Linked DNA regions of Homo sapiens: regions 1, 2, 3, 4, 5 and 6 are each linked to region 7. The links are contacts of gene promoters, found by promoter capture Hi-C in blood cells and fetal thymus (Javierre and others, 2016). All regions are on one chromosome and are shown on one strand. The core of a region is centred on a gene start or on the middle of the fragment in contact, and the rest is flanking DNA. Distances in the headings are between cores, read along the strand shown.

Region 1 (4,036 bases), core at 73-2,572, 410 kb after region 7:
GAGAGTGGGGACCTACCCAGGGAACTGCCCTCTTCTGCGCAGAATTTCCCTGCTTCCTGTTCCTATCAACAGTAACTAGGTGTCAACTTACTAATTTAGCCACCCAGTGGCTGTCCCAAGAGCCCTCTAAATCTGCAATCACTGGAAGGCCTCACTGAAAAGTCTTCCTTTCTTCTGTGATTAAGGGCCTGATATTTTAACTTTTAGAATAACTTATTATGCAAATAGTGACCAATTGACATCAGTGGAGCAGAGTTGCCTTTATGAGTCAGAGTAGAGACAAGAGAGAGGTCTGTTTTCTCTCTTGATTAAATCAGCCCCAACGGAACAGCCCTGATTTAAACAGAAAAACATTTTTAAAGTAGTGATCTGTTTAACTTTTGTGGTGAGCTCCCTCTGGAGAAATATCTAGATGTAGAGGAGAAATATTTCCTTATTATACTTAGTTTTAAAAAGTCACTTTTTCTTTGACCTTAATGCCATGAGATTTGGATCCTTTTCAGTCTCGGCAGAAGAGAAGTGGGTTAAAGACTCCACCACCCGAAGGCAGCTTCTCTTCTTTTTACCTATAAGTAAACCATGAAATCAGAATCTCCCAGAACTTCAGAGCCAATGAGACCTCAGACATCACTGCCCCATACCTTCGTTTCATGGTAGAGGGAACAGAGCCTCAGGAGGAGAAATGTCTTGTCAACAGCCACAAAGCTAGTTAGTTCCTAAGGCATTATTAATAGTTCTGACTCATAGCTCAGGGCTCTTTCCATATTCACAAACCATTGCAAACCAGACTTCCCAGTTATAAAATATATGTGTTTTTCACCAATGTTTTAAACATTGTATTTTATGTGTGAGCAACCAGCATAACAAAGACCATCTTTTAAAACTTGTGCTATGAAACCAGAGATTCTCAAAAGTTTCATGCAGCTTGTTCCCAAAGGGACATCTGATTAGAGTAACATCTATTCTTATACATTTTTAGGATGGAGGAGGAAGCAATTGAAGGGAGATAAAGAAAGGAACAATAAGGGGTCTTTTCTCCTTGACATCTCTGCCAAGGCACCTTGACTCATGAGAGTGTCCAGCCTACTTGAGGAAAATTGTCCAAGAAGTCTAAAGGTTTCTTCCTTATGAGGTTAATTCAATTCACTTTTTAAAAATGTAGTAGGCACTGGGCATACAAAGATGAATGATACCCTTTATCCTGGGAGCTTAAAATCCAATGGAGAATGTAGAAGATACACAATACAGGTGGCCCTCCATATCTGTGACTTCTGCATACTAGGATTCAACCAACCTCAGTTAAAAATATTTGAAAAGGCTGGGCGTGGTGGCTCACGCCTGTAATCCCAGCACTTTGGGAGGCCGAGGTGGGCGGATAATGAGGTCAGGAAATCGAGACCATCCTGGCTAATACGGTGAAACCCCATCTCTACTAAAAATACAAAAAATTAGCTGAGCGCGGTGGCGGGCGCCTGTAGTCCCAGCTACTCGGGAGGCTGAGGCAGGAGAAAGGCATGAACCCGGGAGGCGGAGCTTGCAGTGAGCCGAGATCGCACCACTGCAGTCCGGCTGGGCGGAAGAGTGAGACTCCGTCTCAAAAAAAAAAAAAAAAAAAAAGGTTTGAAAAAATAAAAAATAATAAAACCACAATAAAAATAATACAAATTGAAAAGCAATACAGTATAAGGACACAGCATTTATATGTATTAGGTATTATTAGCAATCAAGAGATATTTAAAGTATATGGTAGGTTGTGCGCAGGTTACATGCAAATACTACACTAGTTTATATCAGGGATTGAGCATCTGAGGATTTTGGTGTCCTCAGGGGTCTAGAACTGATTCCCCACAGATACGGAGAGACAACTTGTCACTATACTACCAGATACAATGTGATTGGTGTCAGAGCAGCAGCAGTAAGTCATTTAGGCACCCAGAAGATGGAGAACCAATTCTGACAGGAGGAGGAAACTCAAGGCAGGTTTGGGGAGGAGGTGGCGTTTGAGCGATACTTTGAAAGATGGGGAATGAATCCAGGAGTGGAGAGGAGTGAAGAGAAGGGCATTCTTGGCCAAAGACACACAAGAGCAAAGGCTGTGAGGGAAGACGACATACCGTTATGAATGGGATGAAAGAAGGAGGGAAGGTTGGGAACAGAGGGTGCAGCCTGTTCCCAAAGGCAGGCCTGAGGGGAGGCCACTGCTGGAGGAAGCACAGCCTTTCTAGTTGCAGTAAAGAAAGAGAAGCTAGCCTTGGCATCGTGGGCCTCCTTCACCACTTGGGTGCCCTTCCTCTTCAGGAGACCACAGTTCTCAGGCTTCCTCCCTTCACCACAGCTGGCTTGAGCAGGAAGTATGGTAGATACTCATTCATACCACAGGGTGTTGCCATGGAAATGGATCAAAGTAAGGTGATATCCGAAGAGAACAGTAGCTGCCACTTAGAGCCTCAGAGAGGGGAGAAAGCCTTAATGGAGACTTCACACTCTAAGGTGTGGTCCAGAGTGTGCCTACGACCCAAGGCACCAAGACAAGACCTATCACCAGGAACTACCTCGCGAACTAAGCAAAATCTCAACAGAACAATGTACACCCACATCCGAAAGAAAATATGCTGGCGTGTAAAAAAGGAAGAAAAACTACCAAGAAAAATTAAACATTTCAGTTAACTGGCCAACGTATTTTAAAATGAAACAAACTTTTAAAAATACAAAAATATAAGCATTTATTGAGTGCTTACTATACACCAGACTTTGTGCTAAAGGTTTTTGAGGCATTATCTCCCACACACCTGGAAGTCCAAATCACAATCCAAAATGTGCTTAGTGAGAGTGGAATCTGAACCAAGTCTAGTTGTTGGATGCTGATGGTTCTTGTCATTGACTTAGGGTAACCAGTTTGTCCTGGTCTGCCCAAGACTTTCCTAGTCATTCCAGGAAACCCCTCAGTCCTAGGCAAACTGGGACAATTGATCACTCTACATCAAGTTATAATGGCCCAAAGTTTCCTTCTCCTCTTTTTAGGGCTTACTTGTGGAGAGGACTGCACATTTGTCTCACTGGGACATCTCTCCTGGATAGCATTGGATGAACATTGCCAAATTCCCATGTTTATATCTTACAGTGCTTTCCAATTTTCCCATGCTTCTTTTCTATATCTAATGCCATAGATTCATCTCAAGATGGTGAAGCAGAACTACAGACTGGCTTGCCCAATTCCATTCCCTCTTCTCGTGCGTCTTCCTGCCCTGTAGTAGGGGAAACTCATTCTCCACACTCACTTGCAGCTCAAGCTCCTCATGTGACTTAGGCACTGCTAAGCAGATGCAGTGATGTGAGTCTTGGAAGGAGCGAGTGAGAAAAGTCAGCTGTTGGCCTTGTGCAGGGAGAGGGGACCTTCTGACAAGCATAGTGGCAATAGCCAGCAGGGGCAGGGCAGCTACGGACCCAGAAGCTTCCTGATCATGGCAGAGGCCTGGTGCTTCCGGGGCCCTGCTGGCAACAGCTCCCTTAGTAGACCGGTTCTTTTGAGAGGTTCAGTCTAGATTGTGTACCTTCAACCCTCCCAATGATTTTTTGGAGCTATTAGTAGCCCTTTATACCTCTCCTTTTGCATACACTAGCCAGAGGATTCTGTAATTTACAACAAAAATCACAGCCTCACACAGATGGATCCTATACATAGGATGCCATCATCAACAGCCTAATAATGGCTTCCTGGAATGCTGCCTTGAAAGGAATTCTGAGACCTCATCCAGGCTTAGTGAGAAAGACTGCTCTGATGCGTTAGGACCTCTTTTATGGTCCCAGAGAGAGAAGAATTGCATTTGCATCAGACTTTTGCCATCTGTGGTTGAGACTATTGACAAAATCACTTATTTTTTCTTTTGTTTTACAACCATACTGTCATTTTAAGATGCTCTCTGCTAAGGTGTTGATAATTCTGGAAATCAGAAATTTTAGACATATTTCTTTAACCTTAATTTTAGAAATATAAACTACAATTGCCTTTGATATGAAGAACTGAATAATTGTTGAT
Region 2 (3,851 bases), core at 1,039-3,538, 300 kb after region 7:
GTACTTATGCTAAATTAGCATATTTTGGGGGACACATTCTGATCCCCTTCGAATCCATATTAGAAAAGAAAGACTAAAGATAGGGAAATTCAGTGCTTAGTTAAGGGAGATGTAGGTCACAGAGAGTAGTTTTCACTAAGAAATGAGGAGTAAGTCTGAAACAACAATGAAAGAATCTTGCTTTTCAGTGATTGAGGCAAACAGCTCCAATAATTGGATTTGGGGAAGAGAACAAAAGTATAGATGAACCAGTATAAGGCAACTACTTTGATCAAATGGTGATTTGTGACAACCTGTACTAAATTTAACAGCAGAATTTCATCAAGGTCATAAGCACAGGAACATAGCAAAGCTTTTATACTCCAAAGAGTTGGTGCCCACTTTATGCCATACTAGGTCTGTGAATTACAATGATATGAAAGGTCTGGTCCTTGCTTTGTGGAACTTTACTCACTTCATTCATTTGGAGAATAGTAATGAATACCTACTATATTTCAGGTATGGTGTGAAATATTTAAGTAAATATATAAGTGAGAAGGCATGTGTTGTGTTGAACATATGAATATCAACACAGTATTATTATTTTGAGTTATGAGAATTGAGGCTATAATAATTAATAATTTATTAATTTAAAATATTTCTGCATAGTTTGCTGTTTTGAAAAAAAATACCACCTGTGAAGCGTGTACAGGAGGAAACCATACTAGTGGAAAAATTTCAACATCCAACGTGGGCTTTTATTCCAACAGAAGAGCCTCACAATCTTCTCTCTGTGCTTCTGGAGAATTTCCCACTCCTTTCAGAAAGTGTTTTAAAATACTTAATTTTCAGATATACAAACTTCTGAACAGGGAGAAAAACCTGAACTAATTAGGAGCAAAATGTTCGAAACAGAAAGGAGAACAAAGTAGGAGAGAGGAATTGAAACTGTGAGGAGTGGTAGGAATCAGAAAAGAAAAAGGTGAAAAAAACCACAGAGTCAGAAATAATCTTATCTTTGGGTAACTTTGCCAGTAAAGATGCACCTAAAAATTTGTCTAATTTGTCTAACTGTAAAATGCCATGTCTAAAGAGCTGGGACAAAAGGAATACGATTTTTTTTTTTTGAAACAGAGTCTGTCTCTGTCGCTCAGGCTGGCGTGCAGTGGCTCGACCTTGGCTCACTGCAACCTCCACCTCCCGGGTTCAAGTGATTCTCCTGCCTCAGCTTCCCCAGTAGACTAGCTGGGACTACAGGTGTGCGCCACCATGCCCAGCTAATTGTTTGTGTATTTTTAGTAGAGACGAGGTTTCACCATGTTGGTCAGGCTGATTTTGAACTCCTGACCTAAAGTGATCTGCCCGCCTTGGCCTCCCAAAGGGCTGGGATTACAGGCGTGAGCCACTGCGCCTGGCTGGAACATGATTTTTAATAGTATTCTTGTTTTCATGTTGCAAAGAGGAGGTACCAATCTCATGGGTACAATCTCATGAGGGTTGTCTCATGAGGAAAACCCTCCCAGAGCCTTTAGAAGTCTTCCTGCCTGCCTCCCCCAGTTTCAGGCGCATCATTAGGCTGCAGGAGCCACACTTAGAGTCACTTACTGAAGGTGCTGGGGAAGCCTGACCAAAGTCCAGGACTGTTTCCTTCAATGGGACTAAAGACAATGACGGTAATTGCCCGCTGAGGGAATCCATTCCTTCCACTTACGAAAGAAGGAGAAGAACCCAGCAAACGAGAGTTCTATGGCAAGACTCACATTGGGTATGGTTGGCAAGGTCATAACTATGGGTTAAAGGTATGACTGCTGGGAGTGGTTAGCTTGCAACTAGAAACAGAAAAAAAAAAAAGCATATAAAGGCACTGGTTCTGGGATTTGACAGGGCTGAGTTACAATCTTGGCTTCGTTACTATCTAGCTCTTTGACTAGAGTTAATAATTTCACTTTGAATCAGTAAAATGGAATAATAATAATCAATTACTGAGTTAAGGGACAGTTCAGCCCTTTCCCACTAATTGTCCCAAATTAAAATACAATCTATATTAATACATTGTGCTATCAATGCAAACACAACTTCAAGACCCAGTCCCTAGTCCCTGGCCTTACCCTCTGTCTCAACCAGAATGTAATCACAAAGCCTCTCCAATAAAGAAATCCTGTAGCTGCTACTGATAATAAAATTTACCTCTCAGGGTTTGGCAACATTAACTGAGATGGGAATCCTTTCCTGTGGCCCTACCATTGACTTTAAAAGCATTTTCAGGGATCACTGTACAGTCTGCCCCTCCTCCCCTTTTTTTAACCTCAAGACAAATTTCTTGGTGTGGGAGCTACAGAAAGTGACAGAAGGGGTGGAGAAAAGATACACAGGAAAATAAACTTTAAGAAGACAGAAAGGAACAGTCTTCCATGTCTGTGAGAGATGTGGGGAAAGTTTAAGGAGAATTACAATCCTTCCTCCCAGAATGTGACCCCAGACCCAAGACAGCCAAAGAAGGCAAGATGAGAAGATATAACTTTCTCAACTTTTAAAGAAAGGCATGCATTTTGTGCACCCTAAATCTTATAATGAAAGATTGCTTGATAGCACATAAGTCACTGGGTGGCAAAATAAGAGACAATATAAAATATTGTTATTGAAAAAATGAATTTTATTTAATGACTAGTACTTGATCCTTTGGTAAATCACAAACTTTCTAATTATTTGTTTTCAAGGAACTGAAGGAAGATCTTACCGAGTTGATACTATGGGATCAAGAAATGTATTTTTAAATAATAATTTATTACATGATATTTGACATACGATTGACAAAAAATTAAAAGAGATTGGATATTAGAGAAAACGCTGACATAAAGACCTTTAAAAAGCCTTTCTTTGGGTATATACCCAGTAATGCAATTGCTGGGTCAAATTGTATTTCTAGTTCTAGATCCCTGAGGAATCGCCACACTGACTTCCACAATGGTTGAACTAGTTTATAGTCCCACCAACAGTGTAAAAGTGCTCCTATTTCTCCACATCCTCTCCAGCACCTGTTGTTTCCTGACTTTTTAATGATTGCCATTCTGACTGGTGTGAGATGGTATCTCATTGTGGTTTTGATTTGCATTTCTCTGATGGCCAGTGATGATGAGCATTTTTTCATATGTCTTTTGGCTATATAAATGTCTTCTTTTGAGAAGTGTCTGTTCATATCCTTTGCCCACTTTTTGATGGGGTTGTTTGTTTTTTTCTTGTAAATTTGTTTGAGTTCATTGTAGATTCTGGATATTAGCCTTCTGTCAGATGAGTAGGTTGCAAACATTTTCTCCCATTCTGTAGGTTGCCTGTTCACTCTGATGGTAGTTTCTTTTGCTGTGCAGAAGCTCTTTAGTTTAATTAGATCCCATTTGTCAAATTTGGCTTTTGTTGCCATTGCTTTTGGTGTTTTAGACATGAAGTCCTTGCCCATGCCTATGTCCTGAATGATATAAATCATGCTGCTATAAAGACACATGCACACATATGTTTACTGCAGCACTATTCACAGTACCAAAGACCTGGAACCAAGCCAAATGTCCCACAATGATAGATTGGATTAAGAAAATGTGGCACATATACACCATAGAATACTATGCAGCCATAGAAAATGATGAGTTCATGTCCTTTGTAGGGACATGGATGAAGCTGGAAACCATCATTCTCAGTAAATTATCGCAAGGACAAAAAATCAAATACTGCATGTTCTCACTCATAGGTGGGAACTGAACAATGAGAACACTTGGACACAGGAAGGGGAACATCACACACTGGGGCCTGTTGTGGGGTAGGGGGAGCAGGGAGGGATAGCATTAGGAGATACACCTAATGTTAAATGACGAGTTATTGGG
Region 3 (4,319 bases), core at 499-2,998, 430 kb after region 7:
CTAAAACTTTCTCCGTATCATCAGTAAGGCTGTTTTCTTATTTGTGTGTTCACTGGAGTAGCACTTTTAATTTCCTTAAAGAACTTTTCTTTTGCATTCATAACTTGCCTAACTCTTTGGTGCAAGAGGCCTAACTTTTGGCCTATCTTGGCTTTCAACATGCCTCTCTCACTAAACTTAATCATTTCTAGCTGTGGATTTAAAGTGAGAGACATGTGACCTTCTCTTCCTTTCACTTCAATACTTACAGGCCATTGTAGGGATCTTAATTGGCCTAATTTCAGTAGTGTCACATCTAAGGGAATAAAGAGGCCAGAGGGAAGAGAGGAAGATGGAGGAATAGCATGTGGGTGGAGAAGTCAGAACCCACACAATATTTATTAAGTTTTCTGTCTTATATGGGTTTGTGGTGCCCCAAAACAATTAGAATAGTAACATGAAAGATCACTGATCACAGATCACAATAGCAGATATAATAATAATGAAAACATTTGAAATATGAGAATTATCAAAATGTAACACAGAGACATGAAGTGAGCCCCTGGTGCTGGGAAAATGGCTTGATAAACTTGTTCAGTGCACAGTTGCCACAAACCTTCAATTCACACACACACACAAAATGTAATATCTGTGAAGTACAATAAAGCATAATAAAACAAGTTGTGCCTGTAAAGTGCTATTTAAACATAAGTGATATTTTTATAACTTAGTTCTTTTTAAATGTGCATTGTACGTCTTTCTGGATCAATAAACATAGAGCTACCTCATTGTTTTTAACCACTACATATTAATATAATGTGATTTACTGTAATATATTTATTTCCTAATTGATAGATGCTTATTTCTTCTAAGCTCTAAAATGATACATAATTTTGCCAGTGCCCTCTCTTGTACATTTATCTCAGTGCATCATATTAGTAAATTAAGCTTCTTTTCATTTATTCATTGGCCATTTGTATTTCCTTAATTTTCTCTTAACTCCTGGGTTCAAGTGATCCTCTCATCTCAGCCTCCCGAGTAGCTAGGATTACAGGCCTGCACCACCATGCTTCGTTAGTTTTTTTGTGTCAGTTTTTCTTTCAAAGCAAAACTGTGTTCCATGAAAAAAGATGGCCAGTGTAGTTCATGGCTCAATAACGTAGGCTCCTTCCCTCGGGACAGCCGTCACACTTGAGTATGGAGCAGAAGTGCTGTGCTCACTCTTCCTATAAAACATGTACTCAAGATTCTTACTAAATTTATACACTTAATAAAATCAGTGCTTTCTCTTTTTTTTTTTTTTTTTTTTTTTAGACATAGTCTCGCTCTGTCCCCCAGGCTGGAGTGCAGTGGCGCGGTCTCGGCTCACTGCAAGCTCTGCCTCCAGGGTTCAGGCCATTCTCCTGCCTCAGCCTCCTGAGTAGCTGGGACTACAGGCACCCACCACCATGCCCAGCTAATGTTTTGTATTTTTAGTAGAGACGGGGTTTCACCATGTTAGCCAGGATGGCCTCGATCTCCTGACCTCCTGATCCACCCGCCTCAGCCTCCCAAAGTGCTGGGATTACAGGTGTGAGCCACCACGCCCGGAAAAATCAGTGCTTTTTCTTGCAACATCATGGATGTTAAATAAAACAAACTTTTTTTTTTTTTAACTGTAAGCACCTAATACAATGACAGCATGGTTTGATGCCTCTACCTCCGTCCAGAATAAGGTGTCAGTACTTATACACACTACAATGTAAGGGTCAACAAGTGGAGGAAATGGCAAAAAAATTTAGTATTATTTTGAAAATAGTTCTGACCTCAAGGACTTTGCAAAAGGGTCTTGGGACCTCCATGGGTCTGTGATCATCACTTTAAAGAATTGCTTCAGGCTGGGTGCGGTGGCTCACACCTGTAATCCCAGCACTTTGAGGGGCCAAGGTGGGTGGATCACAAGGTCAGGAGTTTGAGACCAGCCTGACCAACATGGTGAAACCCTGTGTCTACTAAAAATACAAAAGCCGGGCATGGTGGCGGGTGCTTATAATCCCAGCTACTCAGGAGGCTGAGGCAGGAGAATCACTTGAGCCCAGGAGGCGGAGCTTGCAGTGAGCCGAGATTAGGCCACTGCACTCCAGCCTGGGCAACAGAGTGAGACTCCATCTCAAAAAAAAAAAAAAAAAAAAGAATTGCTTCAGTGGAGAATTCCATGGTATGAATATACCACAATTTAATCTTCTCCTGACGGGTATTTGGGGGTGCTTCCAGGTTCCTATTAGAAAAAGGGATGCTATGAACATTCTTACAGATAACATGTGTTTTTGTGAATACATGTGTACATTTTTGTTGGGTATATACTGACGAAGGGGATTATGGAGTCATAGATTACACGTATGTTCACTTTAGGGGTGCCTAATGATTAACCAAAGGGATTGTACTAATTTATACTCCCACCAGCAGAGTATGAGACTTCCTATGGCTCCACATCCTCAGTGACACTTGAAGTTGCCTTTTTCATGTTAGCCATTCTGGTAGATGGGTAGTGGTGTCTCAGCGGAATTTTAATTTGCCTTTCCCCAGTGAGTAATTAATTTGAGCATCTTTTCAAAGCTTCTTTTGTGAGTGGTTCAAAATTTTCTATTACTATATTATTGGTCTTTTAAATTTGTAAGAGCCCCTCTGTGGCTTACCTTTTTATTCCCTTAATATCATTCTTAGTGAATAGGTTAATAGTAGCTTATGAATAGGTTATTAAGAGCTTAATAGGTTATTTTGAGATTTACATATCATAAAATTTACGCTTTTAGATGTACAGTGCTATGAGTTTTGTCAAATGCATAGAGTTGTGTATCCTCCACCACCATCAAGATACAGAACGGTTCCATCCCCTGCAAAATTTTACTCATGCTGCTCCTTCATAGTAACTGCCTCTCCCTCCCACTACACTCTGGCAACCATTGATTTGTTCTCCATCTATATATTTGTATTTTGAGTCTGGCTTCTTTCATGTGCTGTAACGCATTCAAGATTCATTCATGTTGCATGTGTCAACAGTTTATTCCTTTTAATTATGAAATAGTATGTCATTGTATAGATGCACTACCTTTTGTTTAGCCATGTGCCAGTTGACAGGTATTTGAATTGTTTCCAGTTTAGGAGTAATTCTGAATCAAGCTGCTGCAAACATTAAGTTTTTTGTGAACATATTTCCATTTCTCTTGGGTAAACAGCTGTGAGCCATGAATAGAGTTTATATTTACTGTAGTCTAATTGTTCATTTTTTTTCTCTTGATGGTTAGTGCTTGTTTGTGTTCTGTTTAAGAAATCTTGTCAGCAAGGTCACAAAGATATTTCCATATATCATCATGTAGAAGTTTTATTGTTTTGCTTTTCACATTTAGATCTATAATTCACCTCACACTGATTCCTTGTTTCTGTTATAACATAGGGGTCAAGGCTCCCAGCATATGATATCCAATTCAACTAGCATATTTATTTAAAAGACTGCACCTTCTCCACTGATCTGCAGTACCATCTTCGTCTGAAAGTAAGTCTCCATGTTTGCCTGAGTTTTTGTGCTTTCCATTATGTTATATTGATCTATTTGTCTCCCTTGAGCCACTACCCTACTGTCAAATTACTATAAGTTTGTTATCCTGTAGAACACATACCATCTTCTTCTACTCCTCCCTCTCCACCTCCTTCTCTCGTTCTTCCTATCCTCCTTATTCCTCATCTTCTTTAAAGAGTGCCTTGGTTACTCCTGAAATTTTCTATTGCTATGTAAATTTTAGAAACTGCCTCTTAATTTCCATAAAACAAATACCTGTTGAAAGGCTTAAAAGTTGTTGGGTAAATTTGACTTTAAAAAATATTGAGTCTTGGCAGGGCATGATGGCCCACACCTGTAATCCCAGCACTTTGGGAGGCCAAGATGGGCGGATCACCTGAGGTCAAGAGTTCGAGACCAGCTTTGCCAACATGGTGAAACCCCATCTCTATTAAATATACAAAAATTATCTGGGTGTGGTGGCAGGCACCTGTAATCCCAGCTACTCAGGAGGCTGAGGCAGGAGAATTGCTTGAAGCCTGGAGGTGGAAGTTGCAGAGAGCTGAGATCGGGCCACTGTATTCCAGCCTGGGTGGCAGAGCAAGACTCTGTCTCAAAAAAAAAAAAAAAAAAAAAAATTGAGTCTTCCAGTTCATTAGCATGACATGTCCCTCTATTACGTCTTTGATATTTAGGTTTTATCTGAATATTGTTTTGTAGCTTTTGTTTAGAGATAGTGCACATACTTTATTAGATTTATTCCTAGGTATTTGATATTTTGATGCTGTTATAAAAGGTATCTTTA
Region 4 (4,258 bases), core at 1,443-3,942, 450 kb after region 7:
CTTCTCTCACCTGAACTGCAACATTCAAATCCTAGTCTATATTAGCAAAACTGCTTCATGTCACTAACATCAAATGTATACAGCTGGTTATCGCTATCTGAAGTACTATTAGTAATGAGACATCAAATCCCACCATAAATTTGCAGGTGAGGAAATAAATGTGAGATGTTTCTCATTGTCATATAGCAGCTAAATAGAAATGGTTTCACTGAAAATGTTTTATAAAAAACTGTCAAAAGTTTTTCTCTTTTTCATACCAATTGTCCTAATGAAAATACCATTTACCAATGCTTCCTAGGTCATTAGATTTCAAAGACAATTTTCTAGAAATTATCTGGGAACTAATATAGATATCAACCATTTATTTGGCTAAGTGAGGACTGAAAAAAACCTTGCCTCTGCTACCCTTTTATTTCATTGAAGAAATAATGTTTTAATACCCCCAAATAGAAAGGACTTAGTCATGGAATAATAACAATTCATCCCAAGAAAAGAGAGTTGATATACATACCTGCTCTCTTACTTATTTCACTATTTGCCAGCAAAAACTTTGTCACAGACTGGCCATGGGCCCCAGCTAGGTTTCTGGGGATCATTGCTTTTGAGAATAGCAAGTATTATCTGGCATTAATGTTCAGGAATTGAAAGATAAACTTGGGAGTACTTCTTACCCTGAGGGTAATGAATACTTGTGTCTTAAGAGTGTGAGTGTTGTCCATTTCCTGATGACATCCCTAAACTTTGCTCCCCTGTACAACTTCAGGCATCTCATATAAGCCACAGGTAGCTGGTTACTCACTGACTTTGCAGTTACTCCTGTCCCATTTCAGACCTCCTCTTTGTCTTGCACCCTCTGTCTGCTAGTATTTAGTTTGCTTTTGGAGATCTGTCCAGTTTTGGTGACTAGGTTACAACATGAACTCTTTCTTAGCTTGTGGCTCTGTATGTATGTGTCAGGGCTAGATTAAGCTGCAGACCTAGGCCTAATTCTTAATTTGTGCAATTCAGCCTCAGCATAGCTGCAGACAAGGGTTACCTGCTTCTACCTCACCTTGCTCCGGGCGATTACCTCTTTGGGTGGATCCTACCTTCTAGCCCCACAGTTTAAATAGCTGTTCCTGCCATGCCAAAAACACTCACAAACACAAACAACAAAAAACACGTGGTGATAGCAGATAAAAGATGTTCCAAAAGAAAAACTTAGGGACTTCAGTACATTCTCTAAATATTCAACAAGAGATTGCTGATCAATTGTGAAATCTGTTCTCTGTTAGGCAGTTGATAGGACTTAATAAATGCTTATTGGAAAACAAAGGGGTGTTCATGTATTTCCATTATACAAGAAAGCAAAGACAAACAATAGCATACCCTGACCACAAGGTTGTAATCTTTAAATCCAGCCCAAGTGAAGTATTCTTTTATCCAGGATGAGTGAAGAAATATTTCATCTCCTAGAGCAGCATTCAAGATTTCCAAATAAGGTTCAAAATCCCAGGAATCCTTGTAAATTTTTGTCCCCTCTGGAGGCTCTATGATGCCCTTGCTTAAAGACACAAAGGTGTGAGAACAGTGAAAGAAAGTAACAAGTAATGAAGGCAAAAGTTAGTACTTAAGTAGCAAAAGTCAACCAGACTAGCAGCTTTGAGACCCCTCAGATAATTCACAAGGCGTCCCACAAAAGTGCCTCAGTGGTCCCACCATTGCCTAAATCAGAGCAGCTCCTATTGTCTAGTGTGATAGGTTTCTAAGTCAGATTTCATTCAAAGAAAGAAGTCTATGTCTAGAAAAAAACGTGTGAAAACCACTAATTTGGGCCTCTTTGTTCAAACAAGTAAATTACAGAAATGTTGCTTATAATCTGGCCATGATTTTGTGGATGCCTGCACATTCGTGCCTCCCCACCCCAATTAGAATATAAGTTTGGTGAAAGTAGCAACCATGACTGAACCCATAGGAGGTGCTCAATAAATATTTGTTGGATATATGGATGACTTTAGCCTATCTTTAAGAAATTCCCAGAACTTTGTGTCTCTAATATATGGTGCTCTTGCTGTCCTAATCAAAGCACAGCCAATAGACAGATGCCAGTTTTTATCCTTAAACCCAGCCAGTAATGTGGTAGAGTTCTCTGACAATCCTAGAATTCTGTCCATCCCATGTGAAGATGTATCCTTGCATAAAACATGGAATTTTAAATCCCAAGAATGGAATAGGATGTGATCTGGATAAAGAAAATATAAGGAGGGAAATAGGTGCCCATCTCATAAAGACGTGGCAGTAGCTGACCTTCTTCTCAAAACTATACTTTTATATGCCCAAAGCTACAGATGTACTGGTTTCTGTAAAAAAAAAAAAAAAAAAAAAAAAAAAAAATTTACCAAATCCTAAAGCTTCTTCCTTCTAAATGTATCTCAAATCTTCTTCTGCAACTCCTTGCCTTGCCTCAGTGTAGAGCTTCACTAATCTCTTTCTATAGAAAGCCACACCCTCCCAACCACTCTCCCTTACTCCAGTGGTTCTACCTGTTCCCCAGTCCATTCTCTGCAAAGCTGAAATGGTTTTTCTAAATAAAAACTCAGCAATGTCCCTTCTTTGCTTTATAACTTTCTGCAGCTCCCCTCACTCACAGGACAAATTCCCTGCACTGGCTTCTGGGGCCTTTCTCCGAGCCTGGCTGCCGCCTATCTCACCCTTTTCCTCTGCTTTCACTCACAAGCCCTCTACTTAGGAAGACAGATGGCTTCATGAGGGCAAAAGCCTCTTCACAGCTGTATCCTCTGTATCTGGGATGATGACTTGCACACAGAAGGAGTTCAATAAATCATTTCTGAATGAATCACATATATTTATGCCCTCATTCAAAGTATCCGCATTCACCAAACCCATTATACACTTGCCTTCTCCAGCACATGCCATTGTTTCTGACTAGAATCTCTTTCTCCTCTCTACTTACTCGTGACATCCTCCTCATCTCTAAATGCCAAAGATCCAGATTAAGCTTTCCTTGGTCACAATTTTTTCCTCTTCCCCTTGCAAGGCAGTTAGAGCACTTGGTCTCTGTGTGTCCTCTATACTTCGTCTTAGCTCTAAGACCCAACGGTGTTGACTTTCTAGTCACCCAGAATGCTTTGGTGAGGCACAAGAATACAAATGCAGATTCCTGGGCTCTACCTCAGATCTACTGAATCAGGATCTGTGGGGGAAGGGAGTCCAGGGATCTGGATTTATGTGAGTCTCTTCAATTATTCCTATGTTCATTAAAGCTTGAAAACTGCTGGGGCAATCGAAAGAGAAGATTTTTGGAGAGTTAGGCAAATGTAAAATGACGAAGGCTCTTGAATACCTTGCTAAGAACTGGAATAATTAAAAACCTTTAGACCTGGAAAATAAAATTAAAAACACTTTTATCCTGGAGGCACTAAGGATATCCTACAGAATTTTAAACAAGAATGTTTGCATTTTAGAAAGGTTACTTTGTCAGCAATGAAGAGCAGGGGCTTTCAAACATTTTGCCTATCATCCCAGTAAAGACTACATTTTACATTAGGACCCTGGAGTCCCCCTACCAAGGGTACCTATGAAACGGAAGTTTCATGAAATAATACCCTTGTTACATGCAATGTACTCAGGTATTTTCTATCCTATTCCATTTTATTCTATTCTATTTCATGTTTAAAACATTGGCTGTGAGCAATGGCATTAATTTTGTGACTTGCCAATGGATTGTGACCAGCAGATTGAAGACACTGGCATGAAAGATGGATCAAGGGAAGTTGTGGGGGAGGCACAGATACAAGTTGGGGGGCACTGCAGGAGTCTAAGTGAGAAATTTTGAGAGGCAGAATTAAGGCCAGGGCAGAAGAGGCTGGAGACGAGTGATGGATTTGTGAGTGCTTTATGAAGGAGAATTGACCAGATTTGATAACTCGTTTAATATGGGAAGTTAGCAAAAGACAGAATGAGCTGATTTATCATTCATACTGACTTTGCAGAGGTAAGGCTGGGAGAGGGTGAGCTTTTGGTAATTGCATGTACCACTCTCCAAAATGTTAGTCCATTTCCAAATAGCCCATGATGGTTTCATTTGGCTTAGAGTAGTATTCAAAAATATAGCTTTGTGGCATCATGTTAACTTTTCTTGGATTGCATTTCCAGTGTGTTATTGTTACTTGTTCAAATGTACTATCTGTGGAATGGGAAATTGGGTAATATTTGCACTGATATGAAAACTAATTTTCTTATTGCTTTTTACTTTCAT
Region 5 (4,089 bases), core at 192-2,691, 390 kb after region 7:
GAAAACTCATTTCCATTCCTCTGATTGGAGTCCACAAAAAGTGCTAACCAGTGGCTGCCTCCATCAAAGCTCTACCTAACAGAGTTCAACGGGTTTTTGTTTTGTTTTGTTTTGTTTTTTGAGACAGCATTTGCGCTGTCACCTAGGCTGGAGTGCAGTGGCATGATCATAGCTCAGTGTAACCTCCAGTTCCTAAGTTCAATCAATCCTCCTGCCTCAGCCTCCTGAGTAGCTGGGTTTACAGGCACACACCACCATGCCCACTAACTTAAAAAAAAATGTTTATAGAGACAGGATCTTGCTATGTTGCCAGGCTGGTCTCTAATTCCTGGCCTCGAGTGATCCTCCCACCTCAGCCTCCCAAAGCATTGGAATTACAGGTGTAAGCCACCACGCTAGGCTAGAGTTCAACTTTTTAAAGAGGCGAAACAAGTTCCAAGTGGGCTCTGTCATCTGGTTGCATTTACTTGTACTGAAAATAGCCTGGAGATCCTCTGTGGGGGCAAACACTCCATTTTCCCAGAAGAACAGGAGTCACACCCCTAGGGGCCAAGATCAGTTTTTCCCTAGTGTATCTGTGTTGCCTCCTGTGTGGTGTGGTGTAAGCCAGCTGAATGTGAGGGTAGGGTGCCTGGCTGAGGAAGATGGGGATGCCTTCTCCAGTATGACATGTCTCCCATTATTTTGGGAAAAAATGTGGAGGTGGCAATGGTAAGCCCTTCATACTGCCTCAAATGCCACTATTACCATTTTTAGGCCCTCAGCTCCCAATAGCTACATTGCCAGGAACTGTGCTAGGCACTTGACATATTTTATGTCTTTTAATCCCCTCCAATAACAATGGGAGGTGGGTGTTACTGTAATAAGCATTTTAAGGTTGAGGAAGTGGGCATTCAGGGAGGTGGAATAAATTGCCCACAGGCCAACAGCTAAGAAGTTGTAGAAGCAGGATTTGAAGCCAAATCTCCTGGTTGTCAAAGCTTATATACTTTTCAGGGTTTCTTTCCTTTAATCGCCCACCCCAACTGTGGCAGACTAAAGGAAAGAAAGGCTCTCGGGGCATTCAGTTATCTGTGCCCACCCCTCATTCCCGTGCCCTGCCCTGACCCTGCTGTCATCATGTAGAAGGCCCAGGCACCCACGGGCTGTTGCTGTGTCTATACTCCTCTTTACCTGGGCAGGTCACAGGTAAGCAGCTTGACAGGGTTTACAGGACACCAGATAGGTCCTTCTCCCGAATGTCTGCTCAGTATCACACATGTGTGTCTTTGTAGTGACCTTTGGCCTCTTTTAAAATTCAAATATCCCTAAGAAGGGTAACATATTACCGTTCTCATACCTTGGTTTGATTATTATTATTATTTTTTTACTACACTGCTATGGACTAGAAAAGAAAATAAATATTTCATTACAGATTCTGGGGGTGAAAGGAAGAAGTGAGGAAGGCTTAGGGAAGATGAACTTTGGGATCCATTGCTTTACTATGAGTTTAATTTTGATGGAACCCAAACGGTTATTGAGTAGATGAGGTACCAGGTATTTTACTAAGGGTTACAGGCATGCAGAGCTTATTAAGGATTTGTTCTCACCTGGGGAGATTTGAATATGGTCCGGGTATTAAATAATATGTGGGGATCATTGTTAATTTTATTACGCAGTTATGTAGAAAAATGTACTTATTTTTTAGAGACGCTCTTACTAAAATGTCATAATGTCTGATTTATTTTTAAATGTTTCAACAGGAAATTAGATGAAGCAAATATGGCAAAATGTTAATAATTGTTAAATTTAGGTGATAGATATATAAGATTCATTATACTATTTTCTCAACTTTACTGAATGTTTGAAAATTCTCATAATAAAAAGTAAAACAAAAACAAACAAATGAGCAAACAAAAAACCTAAAGCTTTCCAGTAGCTCAAAATCGAAGTTCTATTGCAAAGATGACAATTAGGTTTTGTAGTAAGCAGAATTTGAAGATGGCCCCACGATTCTTGCCCCTTGGCATACAGGTTCTGTATAGTTCTTGAACCTTGGGTATAAATATGATGAGATTTTACTTCTGTGATTAGATTATGTTATATGGCAAAAATGAGGGATTTTTCAAATGTAATTAAAGTCCTTGATCAGTCAATTTTTAACTAATCAAAAGAGAGATTATCCTGGGTGGGCCTGACCTAATCAGGTGAGCCCTTTAAAGAAGAGTCTATAAGCAGCAAAAGACCCTTGTTGGCCTTGAGGAAGCAAACTACCATGTTATGGAGAGGGTCATGTGGCAGAGAACAATGGGTGGCCTTTAGTTGCTGAAGGCCTCAGGCCTACAACTGCAAGGAACTAAATTCTGCCCACAACCATTGAGCTTGGAAGGAGACCCTGAGCCTTAGATGAGATTGCAGCCCCAGAGAACACCTTCATTGCAGCCTTGGGAGACCCTGAGCAGAGAATCCAGCTAATTCATGCCCATGGAAGCTGTGAGATAAAAAATGTATGTTGTTTTAAGGCAATAAACTTGTGGTAATTTGTTACAAAGCACTAGAAAACAAACATAAATTTCAACCAGTGAGGCAATTCTAATTGATTAGACATGGCAGCTTAAGGCACTATATTAGAAAGGATTCCAAGCCAGGGCCTGGCCCCCGTGGGGAAAAAGGAGAGAGCTGTGGTTGATTACCAATGTCTGCATGGGCATGGAAATGGACAGTGGTGGCACATGTCCCTCCTATCGCCATTCAAGGTCCCTCTGTGTATTTAAAGAAAAGGGGTTTACTAATTTATTTTTCTTAATGACAAAATAACCCCAAAGGATTATATAACTTGAGTCCCCAAGTTGGAGGAAACGCTGACCTATGAGAAAAGCTTCAGAGAAAGAAGACAGGAAACGTTATCAAAGCAGATTTTAGCAGCTGCAAAATATTGTTGAGGGCCACCCTTGCAGGCTGACATTTGCAGTGATAAGCGTCCTTCCCTCGCAGGTGTCTTCACTCTTTCTCCCTTTCCACTTTCTCTGATTCGCTGCCTGCAAACATGCACAGGTCTTTTGTGAGTTGGAAAATGCAACCCTCCAAAAATGTCACTTGATCCTGTTCCTGTTTCTAACTCACACTGACTCTCATGCAGCAGGGCTCTTGACCATCCTGGAAGAATATCAGAATTCCCTCCTTAGGCATTATGCCAAAGAGGTCAGGACCAGCCTGCTTAATGTTGAGCTTACATTCAACATCTATTAATATATCATTTCATATTAAAACCATGCAGAAATCAGCACAGTATTCAGATGTTAGTCTCAAAATTTAAGTGAAATTTCTGTAGTAAAGCAGGCTTTTCTGATAACTCTTATTTTAAGAGTATAGGCCGACTTCCCATCCATACTAGTGAAACCATGCAGATCCATAATCCAGCTTTTCTCAGTGACGGATTCCATAACGGAGGTATTGGATTAAAACTTAGGATCACAACTAATTTCCTACAGATATAGAATGAAGTTTCATAAAAACTGGAATTTAAATTTAAGGTACGCGCAAGTAAAAGAAACATGATCAAGAAGGTAAAGGCCCAGAGAAAACTGATGGCTTCTTCAATTATATCAAAGAAAAAGAAGTATTTTGCTTGATGCAAATTGTTTGCTTGTCTTTGAATTGTCATTTGGAATCCAACCAGCTCAGCTTGCCTCCGAAACTAGTAGACTGTGACTATTTTGGATACATGTTCCTAAGCCACTCATTCATCTTAATTTAATTGTCTATACCAGGGGCTTTTAACACATAAGGAAGAGTTGCCAACATATAACTAGGCATCTAGGCATAAAGAACACTGTGTGATAGACTTCTACTTTTTTTTTTTTTTTAGATGGAGTTTCGCTCATCGCCCAGGCTGGAGTACAATGGCACAATCTCCGCTCACTGCAATCTCCGCCTCTTGGGTTCAAGCGATTCTCCAGTCTCAGCCTCTTGAGTAGTTGGGATTACAGGTGCCCACCACCACGCCTGGCTAATTTTTGTATTTTTAGTAGAGATGGGGTTTTACCATGTTGGCCAGGCTGCTCTTCAACTCCTCACCTCAGGTGATCTGCCCAACTCGGCCTCCCAAAG
Region 6 (4,100 bases), core at 609-3,108, 500 kb after region 7:
GACAAAGTTATAACAAGAAAAAAAAACTACAGGCTAATTTCTTTCATGAACATAGATGCAAAAATACTCAACAAAATATTATCAGATATAGCAATGGATAAAAAGAATTATATGCTATGACCAAATGGGATTTATTCCAGGCATGTAAGGCTGGTTCAACATTCAAAAGTCACTAATATAATGTATCAAATCAATAGGCTAAAGAAGAAAAGTCACATGATCACATGCATTTGATAAAATCCAACACTCATTCATGATAAAAACTCTCAGCACACTAGAAATACAGTGAAACTTCTTCAGCTTGATAGAGAACATTTACAGCTGGGCACAGCAGCCCATACCCATTAATCTAAGTGTTTTTGGGGGTCAACACAGAAGGATTACTTGAGGCCAGGAGGTTAAGACCAGCCTGGTCAACATAGCAAAACCCCATTGCTAAAAAATAAAAATAAAAAAGCGCCAGGTGCGGTGGCTTATGCCTGTAATCCCAGCACTTTGGGAGGCTGAGGCAGGTGGATCGCCTGAGGTCAGGAGTTCAAGACCAGCCTGGCCAACATGGTGAAACCCCGTCTCTACTAAAATACAACAATTAGCCAGGCATGGTGGCCTACGCCTGTAATCCCAGCTACTTGGGAGGCTGAAATAGGAGAACTGCTTGAACCCAGGAGGCGGAGGTTGCAGTGAGCTGAGCTCATGGCACTGCACTTCAGCCTGGGTGACAGAGTGAGACTCCATCTCAAAAAAAAAAAAAAAAAATTAGCCAGGCATGGCAGTATGCATCTATAGCCCTAGCTACTTGGTAGGCCAATATGTAAGTATCACTTGAGCCCCCAGTTCAAAGCTGGGGTGACCTATGATCACACCACTGGACTCCAGCCTGGGAGACAGAGCAAGACCCTGTATCTTAAATAAATAAATAAATTAATTAATTAATTAATTAAAACATCTACAAAAAATGAGAAAGTAGAAGCTTTCTTACTAAGATAAGGACAAGGCAAGGATGTCGTCTCTCACCACTGCTTTTCTACATTGCATTGAAAGTTCTAGACAATAAAATAGGGCAAATAAATAAATAAGTGGTATACAAATTGGGAAGAAAGAAGTAAAACTGTTTTTGTTCACAGATAACATGATTGCCTATGTAGAAAATCTGAAATAATCAATTCTTAAATGTGGGCTGCACATAGAGACTTCCTTTCATAGAGACTTCCTTTCAAAGAGTACAGTATGGAAATGATGAAAAAAAGAGTAACTTTAACAGTAAGGAAATGTGACAATCCGTCAATATCAACGGTGATAAATTATGTTAGAATGTAACTTTAATATGATGTGGTCTTCCTCCTGCAAACCCATAATCCCAGTCTAACCATGAGAAAAAAAATCAGATAAATTCCAGTAGAGAGGTAACCTATAAAATACATGGTCTGTACTCCTTGAAACTCAAGGTCATCCAAAACAAGAAAAATCTAAGTAAATATTACAGCCAAGAGAAGCCTAAGGAGACATGATAGCTCCTTAGCTAATGTGATGTGGTATCTTAGATGTAACCCTGAAACAGAAAAAGACATTAGGTAAAAGTAAAGAGACCTGAATAAGCTACTCAGCACATTAAGGCAAGAAAAAAAAAAGTCAAACACATAAGGAGTGGAAAGAAAAAAAATCATTTTTGAAGATACTTAGAACTGACTGTATACATAAACATTCAGAAGAACCCACATATAAATTATAAGACTCTGAGAGTTTAGTACAGCTGTTAGATATATAATCAATAGTTTAAGAAATCAATTTATTCTCACATCAGCAATAAAAAATACAAAAATTGAATTTAAAAATATATCATTTAAGATAGCAGAAAAGGCTGAGGTGGATCACCTGAGGTCAGGAGTTCGAGACCAGCCTGGCCAACATGGTGAAACCCCGTCTCTACAAAAAATACAAGATTAGCCGGGTGTAGTGGCACATGCCTGTAATCCCAGCTGCTCAGGAGGCTGAGGCAGGAGAATTGCTTGAACCCGGGAGGCAGAGATTGCAGTGAGCCGAGATCGTGCCATTGCACTCCAGCCTGGGCAACAAGAGAGAAACTCCATCTCAAAAAATAAATAAATAAATAAAAATTAAAAGATAGCATAAAAAATGAAATATCAAGAAATACATTTAACAAAAGATGATCTCTTTGGAGAAAATTATAAAACTCTATTGAGAGATATTAAGTGTATCTATAAACGAAGAGTTATATTATGTTCATAGATAGGAAGCTCAATATTATGAAGATAATCAATTTACTCCAAATTTATCTGTAGATTTACTATAGTCTCAATAAAACCCCCAGAATTTTTTTTTTTTTTTTACAGCTTAAAAACTTACTCTAAAATTTATTAAGATATGCCAAGGGCCAAAAAGAGAAAAAACATTCTTCAAGAAGAACAAGGTGGGAGATGAGAGAGGATTTGTCCTAGCAAATATCAAGACTTATTGTAAGCTATAATAATTAAGATCATATAGTGTTGGCTCAGTGGTAGATAAAATAATCAAGGGAACAGGATAGAGGCCTGGAAACAAGTCCACATATACACCAACACTTGATAAGTGACACTGTAGATCACTAGGGAAAGGATAAATGTTTCCACTAAACTTGCTGGGGTAACTGGGATCCCATATTGGAAAAATAGATTGGACTCTTTCCTTATTCCATAGATAAAAATCAATTTCAGACAAGTTAAAAGACTTACATTTAAAAGATAAACAATCAAGCTTTTGGAAGGTATTTAGGAGAAATTTTTTATAATCTTGGGACACGGTGGATTTTTTTCAACAAAACACAAAAAGCTCTACCCAAAAGGAAAATTATTGCAATTTTAGATTACACCAAAAGAACATATACACCCCAAAACACAATAAAAGAGTAAAAAGGTAAGACACATAATGAAAATTTGCAACATAAATATGACAAAGGATTTCTATGCAGAATATAGAAGAATGTCTATAAATCAATAAGAAAAAGACAATCTATAAGAAAAATGGGCAAAAAGGTTTGAATAGGTACTTCATAAAATAGAATATCCAAATTGTGACTAACTGTATAAACAGAGCTCAGCCTCACTAGCAATGGGGAAGTGAAAATAAAAACCACAATGAAGTACCACTATACTTACCAGAACAACTAAAATTAAAACAACTGCAAGTACTAAATGTTGATAATAGGAGTATGGAAACTCTCATATGTTACTAATGACAATGTAGTGAGGTTCAATCTCATTGAAAAATAGTGTGGCATTCTACACTAAAACAGAGAATACACATATACTGTCACCTAACAATCCTACTCTTAGCTAAGTCTCAACACTGGAGAAATATGTGCATATGTTCTTCAAGATACATGTACAAGAATGTACATCACAGCATTATTCATATTACATTTGAGTATATTACATTGGAAACAATGCAAATGTTCATCAACAATGAAATGATAAATTATGTATTTATATGTTATGTAAATTATACGCTATAACAGTAAAGTAGCATTCTGTGGAACACAAAAAGACAAATAAACCAATTAAGACTACTTGTAACAACGTGCACCAATGCCCAGAAATAATATTGGATAAAAAGAACAAAACACACACACACAGAGGCAACGTGACTCCATTTAAATAAAGTTCCCTAACAAGAAAACTAAAGTGTATTGTTTCAGAAAATGAGAAAAATATTACAAGAGTCAGGGTACTATATATCTTTAAGGAGAGAGTTTTAATCAGAAAGGAGCACATATGTAGGATGCAATTAAAGCAAGACATGGGGCAAATTTGTAGCTTTAAATGGCTATAATAGAAAAGAAGAACGATCTTAATAATCTTAAGACTTCAACTTCAGATCTAGAAAAGGAAAAGCAAACAAAACCCAAAACAAGTAGAATAAGAAAATAATAACAGGGTAAAAATAAAAGAAGTAGAAAAAACAAAAAAAATAGAAAATCAGTAAAATCAAAAAATGGTTCTTTGAAAAGATCAGCAAAATTGGCAAACCTTCAGGTAGATTGAACAAGATAAAGAGATAAAGCACAGATTACAAAAAAATCCGGAATGAAAGAGGAGATATTACCA
Region 7 (4,272 bases), core at 1,461-3,960:
TAAAGCAAAGCTCCTTCCTTGGGGGTATTAAGCTACCAGAATATTAAATTGACATGATTTTATGATTTTGATTATTATATTTATTATTGTTGCTGTTATAAAGGTGCTGCAAGGAAAAATTTATGCATTTTATGATGATTTGATATCATAAATCAGAACAAGCTTTGGACATGTCAAAATAAATCTATTTTTTAGTACCAAATTATTTTTAAGGTATGAAAAATATTTCCTGAAAAAGAACACATCTCAAAAATAACAACACTTATTGAAGCGTTACTATTAAAACATGCCAGGCAATGAGCAAAGATCTCTTAAACATATTATTGTATTTAATTCTTACAGGAATTTCGTTAAGTAGGTCCCATTGTTATCTCTATTTTACAGGTGAGGAAACTGAGCCTTAGAGGGTTTAGAGAATTTGCCAAATGTGAGACAGCCACTAAGTGGCAGAGCCACGCCCAAACCCACACCCTCTGACCTGGCAATCTGCAGCACTCCGTTCCAGAAACGGGCATACCTGGCTCTACATACAGCAGTGCCTCAATAACATAGTTTCATTCAACGTTGGTGACAAAAAAATTCCTGGCCAGGGCCACTGTCTATGTGGAGTCTGCTCATTCTCCTCATGTCTGCGTGGGTTTTCTCTGGGCTTCGGTTTCCTTCACATCCCAAAGCTGTGCATATGTCTACATGGTCCCCGTCTGAGTGAGTGGGTGTGTCTGTGAAAGTGCACCCTGTGATGGGATAGCTTCCTGGACAGGGGAGAGGGGGGGGTTCCCACTCTGAACCAGGGAGACTCTGGCTACCCATGACCTTGAACTGTAATAATTGGGTAAATAATGATCTTGTTTTTACTAATCCTTCTTAACTGTATGTATAGATCCCATTTATTTCTATGTTTAATATTAGAAGTGTTGTGGTCTTTATTTAGAAGTTTGGTGATTTTTTTATGACCAGAAATATGCTGTAGGAACTTAACTCTTGTTTATATCAATTAGCCTGTGGTAAAATTGGTTTCCTTATACCTCGTTGTGCTTAAAGGTTCACAGTTTCCAAGAACGTATCAAGAATGTTAAGTGAGGACTTACTGTATTTATTTAAAGAGAATGCTTCCTATCTATTGGCTAGGGAAAAAAAAAAAGTCAAGAAAATTTAACAGCAACTCTATTCTTTTACATTCATACATTACCAAAGCTCTCTTTTGGCTATTTTTAATTCATAAAGATTTTGGCTGAATTATTTTCATTATTTCGAAACAAAAATTAAGTTCTTGCCTCGGCATTTTGCATTACAAATGCAAATGCATTACAAATGGTTAATACAAATAAATCAGAGTACTTAGGTAATATGTTTACATTTCCCTTTTTCAAATTACAGAGGAATTCACCTTTCTCTGTGACTCCTACGTCTATAACTGAACTGACACCTCCAGTTTTCCTCATCTGAATTAAAAATAATACTAAAAAAAGCACAAAATAAAAGTTTAGATTTGGCATAACTTTAGTAGTCTCTACAATTGTGGTCTTCTTATAATAAATTGAAGCATTTGGAAAGTGAGCATGTATTTCAGGAATAAAGAAATAAATACCAACATTTACTTCCAAAATTCTTGTGTGTGGGGGGGAACATTGTCTACAATTTATTTTTTCTGTTACTATCAAAAACATCATTCAACTTTTCAATTCAAGCAGTGGAAAAAATACTAACATTTCACCGACAAACAAAAATGTTTTGATGAACAAACCAGCAATAAAAGTGCACATGAGTATGTATATCATATTTTTCCTCCTTGTATTTAATTAACAAATGACCTTAAGATGATAACTCTCAAAATTTCAGGTTTATCCTCCCGATTAATTTGTGACATTCCTTGGAGGGAATTCAAAGGGAAGAAGAGAAAGATTTTAAGCTTCAGGTTATGGTAAGGAACAGAGACAAAATGCATTTAGCAAATAATAGGAAAGATCACATAAATAGTTCTGAATGAAGTTTAAAGAAAACGATTCCTTACTTCTAAAAAAATGCAATTCGTGAGGTTGGGAAAAGACACTCAAATTTCCCCGACTCCACCCTACTAGTCAACAATCAGTGCAGCAATCAAAAAATGCCCTTTCCTGAATGCCCAGAAGAATCTTAAGAAACTCACCTTCTGAACTCAGGGCGTCTCGATTCTACTTTTGTTGGGTATTGGCCTGCCTACTGGCTGCCCTCTTTCCTATTTCTCGGCCAGGCGCTCTGGGAAGTAGATACCGTACCTGTGGTCACTGCTGGCGACACTGAAGCTCGCCCCATGCGTTGCTGCTGGCCCTGAGCATCACTCGCCGTCCCACTTGTTCCTCCTCGTCGTCATCGCAGGTCTTACACACACACACACACACACACACACACACACACACACACACACACACGTTCACACCCTCGCGCGCGCACCTGCTGTTAAGAGGTACAGCCCCACCCCAGCAAAATCCTCGCTTCCTCTTCCCCGGGACGTAGCCCCAGAGGAGCGAATCTGGACCAAGCCCAAGACAGGCTGAAGCTACTGCTGCGCTCTCACCTCCGGCAGTGACAGCGAGCGCCGCCGCCGCTCTGCGCGGGGCCAGCCAGGCCCGCCGAGGGCAGCACAGGTGGAGCAAGGTTGCACCCCCGGGGGATCCCCGCCCACCGCCCGCGGCAGCTTCTGCAGGCTCGGGGAAAGCGCGCGCCAGTGATTCAGCGCCTTTCCGCCGCCGCGGTTACCACGGCGACGCGCGCGCACGCGCACACACGCCCTCAGGGATGTGGGGCGCGGCAGCCGCCCCTGCCCAGCTCCCCTGCTCAGCTCCCCTGCTCAGCTCCCCGGTTGCGCTCTAAGTACCCGCACCGGGGCGACACACTCCCACCCCGCAGGGGACCAAGCAAAAGTCTTTCGTGAACCTGAGCGGCCTTCATACCCTACCTGCTTTCCTTCACCAAGCCCTTCCCTGTCACCGTGGCCCTAAACAGTCTGGGGGATGAACACTCCTTCCAAATAAACACCCGGGCCAGGGTGGCTCAAGGGAGCCGTGGGTGCACTGCCTGGGTCAAACACCCTTCGCGAATGTGTCCCCCAGCTTGTCCCCAGCTTGTGTCACCCCAGCTACACAAGTTCCATTCTTCCAGTGGGAGTCTCTTTGGCCCCTACTCTGTAATTATCTTTCTATTTTGAGCAGGTGCTTTCTGACTGAGACTGGGAACCTGTGCTAGGAGGGGCTCCCATCACCTCCAGGCCTTGCAGGTTAACTGGATGCCCAGTATAGTTTGACATTTGCATCTTGAGGAACGTGATAATCTAAACCACAGAAAACTTGGGTGGAAGACTCTTGCATTTTTACTGTTTTAATAAAGATGCGAAAGCATCTAGGGATAATATCATGAGCAGAAAAGGTAGCCAGGGCATTCCTCGCACATCTCATTACTAGGAGGTATAAGTGCAGTGCTTAGGGCTGAGTCACACACTGTTGATGAATAAGCTTCTTGGCTACTCGTATTTACCGAAGAGCCTCAGACAAGTTACCTAATCTAGATAAACCTGTTTCCTCAATTATAAAATGAAGATAATAGCATTCATATAGGATGATTCTGGGAATCAAATAAGATAATGCACATTTAAAGAGTAAAAACCAGCTGGGTGCGGTGGCTCACGCCTGTAATCCTAGCACTTTGGCAGGCCGAGGCGGGCGGATCACGAGGTCAGGAGATCGAGACCATTCTGGCTAACACGGTGAAACCCCCGTCTCTACTAAAAATACAAAAAATTAACCGGGAGTGGTGGCCCGCGCCTGTAGTTCCAGCTACTTGAGAGGCTGAGGCAGGAGAATCGCTTGAATCCAGGAGGCGGAGGTTGCAGTGAGCCGAGATCGTGCCACTGCACTCCAGCCTGGGCGACAGAGCAAGACTCCGTCTCAAAATAAATAAATAAATAAATAAATAAATAAATAAATAAATAAATAAATAAATAAAAACTAAAGAGTAAAAACCTGTCCAGGACTCAAAGAGTGAAAATCAGCTTGGACTTGGAAAAGTTAGTACTGCCAATGATCAATGATCAGGCTGAGAGGACAAAGTCAGAAGCAAAATTAACAGGCAATGTTGTTTCCTCTGAAGTCACGCAGCAGGTACAAAACAACACAACTCCTTGTGTTCCATTTTTGAATGACTACTACTTTCTACCTTTGCTTTACTATTCCCATCCATAACTGGGGATACCCAATTGCTAAACTCCCTTCACCTCCTGACAGCACCCAATCCCTCATT

The links. Contacts are between HindIII fragments. The CHiCAGO score rates a contact against its expected background, and 5 or more counts as called.
Region 1: a fragment that was not itself captured here is called in contact with the fragment with the promoter of KIAA0319 in region 7 in 1 of 17 cell types (neutrophils); the score reaches 7.5 in neutrophils.
Region 2: a fragment that was not itself captured here is called in contact with the fragment with the promoter of KIAA0319 in region 7 in 1 of 17 cell types (neutrophils); the score reaches 5.1 in neutrophils.
Region 3: a contact is called between a fragment that was not itself captured here and the fragment with the promoter of KIAA0319 in region 7, in 9 of 17 cell types (neutrophils, total B cells, naive B cells and 6 more). The highest score is 17.3, in neutrophils.
Region 4: a contact is called between a fragment that was not itself captured here and the fragment with the promoter of KIAA0319 in region 7, in 5 of 17 cell types (neutrophils, non-activated CD4 T cells, naive B cells and 2 more). The highest score is 9.8, in neutrophils.
Region 5: a fragment that was not itself captured here is called in contact with the fragment with the promoter of KIAA0319 in region 7 in 2 of 17 cell types (neutrophils and total B cells); the score reaches 7.2 in neutrophils.
Region 6: a contact is called between a fragment that was not itself captured here and the fragment with the promoter of KIAA0319 in region 7, in 7 of 17 cell types (neutrophils, naive B cells, non-activated CD4 T cells and 4 more). The highest score is 10.0, in neutrophils.

Annotation. Positions count from the first base shown.
Region 1 is chr6:25,053,984-25,058,019 of GRCh38, forward strand. No RefSeq gene overlaps it. Among named protein-coding and RNA genes, the nearest start is that of RIPOR2, 120 kb to the left of the region's middle. RefSeq lists enhancers at 123-292, 2,273-2,402, 2,543-2,602. The HindIII fragment of the contact is 4,254 bases long and covers 1-3,449 here.
Region 2 is chr6:24,939,558-24,943,408 of GRCh38, forward strand. The region is part of intron 2 of LOC105374981 (a long non-coding RNA gene); the gene reads left to right. It also overlaps a transcript of RIPOR2 not described here. Among named protein-coding and RNA genes, the nearest start is that of RIPOR2, 5.5 kb to the left of the region's middle. The HindIII fragment of the contact is 3,876 bases long and covers 351-3,851 here.
Region 3 is chr6:25,075,201-25,079,519 of GRCh38, forward strand. No RefSeq gene overlaps it. Among named protein-coding and RNA genes, the nearest start is that of RIPOR2, 140 kb to the left of the region's middle. The HindIII fragment of the contact is 1,647 bases long and covers 926-2,572 here.
Region 4 is chr6:25,092,146-25,096,403 of GRCh38, forward strand. It overlaps the pseudogene CMAHP. Among named protein-coding and RNA genes, the nearest start is that of RIPOR2, 160 kb to the left of the region's middle. The HindIII fragment of the contact is 608 bases long and covers 2,389-2,996 here.
Region 5 is chr6:25,036,291-25,040,379 of GRCh38, forward strand. It overlaps a transcript of RIPOR2 not described here. Among named protein-coding and RNA genes, the nearest start is that of RIPOR2, 100 kb to the left of the region's middle. The HindIII fragment of the contact is 927 bases long and covers 979-1,905 here.
Region 6 is chr6:25,144,193-25,148,292 of GRCh38, forward strand. No RefSeq gene overlaps it. Among named protein-coding and RNA genes, the nearest start is that of CARMIL1, 130 kb to the right of the region's middle. The HindIII fragment of the contact is 1,781 bases long and covers 969-2,749 here.
Region 7 is chr6:24,643,481-24,647,752 of GRCh38, forward strand. KIAA0319 reads right to left here and starts at 2,711. Exons shown (of 21, transcript NM_014809.4): 1 at 2,256-2,711. RefSeq lists a silencer at 2,556-2,765. The HindIII fragment of the contact is 1,579 bases long and covers 1,908-3,486 here.